Linked DNA regions of Homo sapiens: region 2 is linked to region 1. Evidence: promoter capture Hi-C in 16 types of primary human blood cells and fetal thymus (Javierre and others, 2016). All regions are on one chromosome and are shown on one strand. The core of a region is centred on a gene start or on the middle of the fragment in contact, and the rest is flanking DNA. Distances in the headings are between cores, read along the strand shown.

Region 1 (2,720 bases), core at 78-2,577:
GGTGGTGGTAGCTGGGACCAGCTTGATGGTGATGGTGAGAAATGGCAGGATTCCAGAGACCTCAGCGGACTGGATATAGGGCGTGGGGGAGAGGGAATCATCCTGAGATGGACACTAAGATGGAGAAGATTCTGGGAGGAGCAGGTTGTCGGGGAGGGATCAAGAGTCATGGTTCTGTTTTGGACATAGGAAGTTTGAGATACCCATTAGTGAAAGTCCTGGTGGGGAAATGTTGAAAAGGCAGCTGGATACCCGTGAAAAGAGGAAGAGGCTTCAGATACAAATGCAAGCTATCAGACTATAGATAGGGTTTTGCCATGAAACTGGGTGACTTTGCCTGGGGGCATATGCCCCACGGGAGTTACATGGCTTTCCATGAGCCAACGACATTGGGGTGGGGAACCCTGACATTCACTGATTAGTCAAGACTGGGTTTTGTGCCTAATCAGGAAAATAGAGTGTGGGGATCTTGTTCACCCAAATTTCCTGTCCTGAGAATTGGGGAGGGGTGGTTTCCTAAAGAAAATTCAGGGTGTTTAGCCAGGTGTGGTGGCTCGTGCCTGTAGTTCCAGCTACTCAGGAGGCTGAGGTGGGAGGATCGTTTGAGCCTGGGAGGCAGAGATTACAGTGAGCCAAGATTGTGCCACTGCATTCCAGCCTGGGCAACAGAGACCCTGTCTCAAAAAAAAAAAAAAAGGAAAGAAAATTCAGGGTGCTGTTACCAAAAGGGGACCTGTTTGCTAGCAGCAAAAACAAAAGCAAACAACAGCAACAAAAAACCAAACAGCATCTGCCTGCTAAGGCCTCCTCTCACTCATCTCACACACTATCATGGAGCACCTATTCTCTATGAAGTTAATATTAGCTGAGCACCTACTATGTGCCACGTTCTATGCTTTTCTCTCACTTTTCCAGCCTCCTTTCTTTCTGAGAGAACTAGCCCTCTTGGGGGGCCAGGGCATGCCTAAGGGTCCTCCTGCTTCAGCTTTTGTCTCACTGGTACCTCAGTTTCCCTTTAATATGAGAGCTAAATGCTCATCCCATTGATGAGGATGGGGCAGGACAGGAGATGGGGGGGGCACTTCTCACCACTGAGAAAGGTAGAGCAGGCTCTGGCTGACTCCAAAGCCCACACTCTAACCCTCTCAAGTCTAGGCTCCAAGTCTGTGCCTGCTCTGTCCTCCACCCCTCCACCCTAGAGGCACCCCCAAGCACTTCCACAGCAGAGCCTCCAGCCTTCAGCTGGCAGCTGCTAGGACCCAGGGGGCTGGCGCCAGGCCCTGCCCCTCCCTTGCCAGCCGTGTGTGGCAACATCAGAGTGACAGCCAGTACCATCTCCGACAGGGGCTGAGTTGCTGGAGCTGGGCTGGGGCAGGGGAGAAAGACAGCAGACTCATCCTTGCACCCCTCCATGGGCCTGGCCAAGCCCCCAAGAGGATGGCAGCCTGGGCGTCGGAGCCACCTCCTGGGCAGCCAATGAGGTGAGGGGCCGGAGGAGCAAGGGACAAGAGGAGCAGAGGACAGGTGATGGAAATCCTGCAGCTTTAGGCTCCATTCTGCCATCTACATCCCAGCGCAGGGTGAAGCCTGAGAGCCCAAATGGCCAACTCCACAGGGCTGAACGCCTCAGAAGTCGCAGGCTCGTTGGGGTTGATCCTGGCAGCTGTCGTGGAGGTGGGGGCACTGCTGGGCAACGGCGCGCTGCTGGTCGTGGTGCTGCGCACGCCGGGACTGCGCGACGCGCTCTACCTGGCGCACCTGTGCGTCGTGGACCTGCTGGCGGCCGCCTCCATCATGCCGCTGGGCCTGCTGGCCGCACCGCCGCCCGGGCTGGGCCGCGTGCGCCTGGGCCCCGCGCCATGCCGCGCCGCTCGCTTCCTCTCCGCCGCTCTGCTGCCGGCCTGCACGCTCGGGGTGGCCGCACTTGGCCTGGCACGCTACCGCCTCATCGTGCACCCGCTGCGGCCAGGCTCGCGGCCGCCGCCTGTGCTCGTGCTCACCGCCGTGTGGGCCGCGGCGGGACTGCTGGGCGCGCTCTCCCTGCTCGGCACGCCGCCCGCACCGCCCCCTGCTCCTGCTCGCTGCTCGGTCCTGGCTGGGGGCCTCGGGCCCTTCCGGCCGCTCTGGGCCCTGCTGGCCTTCGCGCTGCCCGCCCTCCTGCTGCTCGGCGCCTACGGCGGCATCTTCGTGGTGGCGCGTCGCGCTGCCCTGAGGCCCCCACGGCCGGCGCGCGGGTCCCGACTCCACTCGGACTCTCTGGATAGCCGCCTTTCCATCTTGCCGCCGCTCCGGCCTCGCCTGCCCGGGGGCAAGGCGGCCCTGGCCCCAGCGCTGGCCGTGGGCCAATTTGCAGCCTGCTGGCTGCCTTATGGCTGCGCGTGCCTGGCGCCCGCAGCGCGGGCCGCGGAAGCCGAAGCGGCTGTCACCTGGGTCGCCTACTCGGCCTTCGCGGCTCACCCCTTCCTGTACGGGCTGCTGCAGCGCCCCGTGCGCTTGGCACTGGGCCGCCTCTCTCGCCGTGCACTGCCTGGACCTGTGCGGGCCTGCACTCCGCAAGCCTGGCACCCGCGGGCACTCTTGCAATGCCTCCAGAGACCCCCAGAGGGCCCTGCCGTAGGCCCTTCTGAGGCTCCAGAACAGACCCCCGAGTTGGCAGGAGGGCGGAGCCCCGCATACCAGGGGCCACCTGAGAGTTCTCTCTCCTGAGCAGGAGAAAGGAG
Region 2 (2,700 bases), core at 151-2,650, 230 kb after region 1:
GAGGGCCAGTCAGGGGCTCTTGATAGTCCTGACTTCATCAGGAATGAGCGCAGGGGAAGGGATCACGATCCCAGGGAGCCAGGCTGCACTTGCGGTAGGGAGGTGGAGGTGAGGGGTGAAGCAGAGCAACCCTGCGGCCCTGCACAGCTCAGCCCGTGTGTGTGACCCTATGTATGATGACGTCCCAATCATGGCACACCATGGCTGCACATGTGTGCCTCTGTGACAAGGTCACAGCCCCCGAGGCACGCTGTGACTACACCATGTATCTAACTGTCACAAGGTGCTGCTATCCCTATGACCAGAGTGGTTGGCCATGTGGCCATGTGTGAAAGGGTGTTTGTGACCCTGGGCAGCTGTGGGCCTGGGATTCTGCATGTATTTGAGAGACCTTCAGGGTGTGCACGTAGGAATGTGACCAGCAGACCACGCTGCCAGACACTAGGCCCTAAGAACTTCCAAACTTGAAATGTCACTTCAGAGTGGCCAGCAGTCTTCTGTCTGCTAAGACACAGGCAGGCTGTGGAAAACTATTTTCTAGATGTTGTTACACAAATATAGAGTGAGAGCCCTTCTGCTGCACAGCTATGGTCATCTTCTGAGGTGGTGGTCAAGGAAGAGAGCGGGAGAGGGACCAGGAGGGGGAACGAGGGTCTGACTGCAGCCTCCACCCCAGCTGAGCTTCAAGGGGCTTCAGTTGACTCCTGACCACACCGTCCACAGACCAGGCTGAGATCAGAGGTGGCCTATCCCAGGGTGAGCTTAGGGAGAGCCATTGGAGAGGATGACATAGACACCCGGGAGGGCCCATGGGAGCTTGCGTATGCATGGGTGGCAGTGGAGTGGCAGAGTGTCGGGACATGGACACTTACAGATCTCCCCAAGGAAGGCTCCTGAAGATGCTCAACTGGGCCCCTAGTAAATGGCCTTGCTCCATTTCCCCTGGCCTTCTCCAGGCCATCTGCTGACCAGCCATCTGACCCTAGCTTTCCACACTCACCTCTTTGCTGACACAACCTGCCCACAAATGGCCCCATCTCTGGGCCCACAAACGGCCCTATCTCTGGGGCCTAAGGACCCACCCACACACACTCACTTGCACATAGTTCACAGATAATCCTCATTTATTTACCCACTCCATTCATTCATGCATTTATTCATATGTTCATTCATTCATTCAACAAATGCTCATTGGGTACCTCTTGTGAGCCACCAGCCCTGCTGAACTTCTCCAACTCCCCAGGTCAGAGAAATGAAGGCACAGTCCCAGTGGACCCCGGTGTGAGTAGCTCAGCAAAGAGGAACCTGGAGGCTGAGTGGGCTGATGGCCGTTAGCTAGGGGGAAGCACTGAGGGGTGTCACAACCAGGCCACTGCATCAAGCTGGATGGGCTTTGGAGATTGGGTAAACACTGTGGCTGCCTTCCCCCAACCCCAGGCTGGATCTGGCACCTAATGAGTCGGGGTTGAGTCCCAAGGCTTCAGAGCTGTCTTCTAATCCCAAAGCCTACAGAACAAGACCCATCCCTTGGATGGTTCTCAGGGCCCCCTCAGTTGGGCCCAGATTGCCTTAGCTGCCCCCATGCCCCCTTCCCACCAGCTACACCAGATAATGTAAGTTCCCTGAAGGCTTGGAGGACTATGGCCTTCCAGCTCCTCCGCATTGCCCCCTCCCAAGGGGGCCTGGAGCCCAGCTTCCAAGGCTCCCCATATCCCCCCAACTTCTCTGCCATGCCTCCTTGCTCACATTTCAGTCATGATAATAGTAATCATAATTAGATCTATCCAGCACCTCCTTGGCACTGGGCATGGATGGGTGATTATTTCCAACCCTCCCATATTCCAAAGCATAGTGGCCAGAGCTGGAGGTGACCAAGAGTGTTGCACTAGATCCCCCAGCCTGGGGCACTGGTCAGCTCCTGGCCTCCTCCACCCCAAATCATCGCCAGCTTGGCTCCTTCTCCTTCAGGACTCACCCTAAACATCCTCTCCTCAGAGAGGCCTCTCCAAGCCTCCAAACAGAGCAGCCACTGTCCTTGTCACTCAGAGCACCATGTGAGCTCTCACCCTCACAAGATTATGTGTCTGGATGGCGTGTCCTTCTGGACATCTGTCTCCCCCACCAAAGTGTCCACTCCGCGAGAATAGGGACTACATCTACCTTGTTCATAGCTGCCATCCCGGAACCTAGTTCAACACTAGGCAAACAGTAGGTACACAGTAAGTATTTGCTGAATAAAAAAAGCCTATTGATCCATTTCCTGGAAGCTGCCTCACTCCATCAAGGATCTGAGGCCACTCACAAGAACACACTCAATTCAAGAGGAGAGAAAAAGAAAAAAAAACATAAAGTTGGAATAAAAGATTCTGACCTGGCCGGGCGCGGTGGCTCACCCCTGTAATCCCAGCACTTTGGGAGGCCGAGACGGGGATCACGAGGTCAGGAGATCAAGACCATCCTGGCTAACGTGGTAAAACCCCGTCTCTACTAAAAATACACACACAAAAAATAATTAGCTGGGCATGGTGTGGGGCGCCTGTAGTCCCAGCTGCTCGGGAAGCTGAGGCAGGAGAATGGTGTGAACCCGGGAGGCGGAGCTTGCAGTGAGCCGAGATCGTGCTACTACACTCCAGCCTGGGCAACAGAGAGAGACTCCGTCTCAAAAAAAAAAAAAAGATTCTGACATTTGACCTGGTGGTT

What was found. Contacts are between HindIII fragments. The CHiCAGO score rates a contact against its expected background, and 5 or more counts as called.
Region 2: a contact is called between a fragment that was not itself captured here and the fragment with the promoter of GPR62 in region 1, in 1 of 17 cell types (neutrophils). The highest score is 5.7, in neutrophils.

Annotation. Positions count from the first base shown.
Region 1 is chr3:51,954,054-51,956,773 of GRCh38, forward strand. GPR62 (G protein-coupled receptor 62) reads left to right here and starts at 1,328. Exons shown (of 1, transcript NM_080865.4): 1 at 1,328-2,720. The coding sequence starts at 1,600. The coding sequence ends at 2,706. RefSeq lists an enhancer at 1,988-2,576. The HindIII fragment of the contact is 13,748 bases long and covers 1-2,720 here.
Region 2 is chr3:52,184,696-52,187,395 of GRCh38, forward strand. No RefSeq gene overlaps it. Among named protein-coding and RNA genes, the nearest start is that of ALAS1, 12 kb to the right of the region's middle. RefSeq lists an enhancer at 1-659. The HindIII fragment of the contact is 3,900 bases long and covers 1-2,700 here.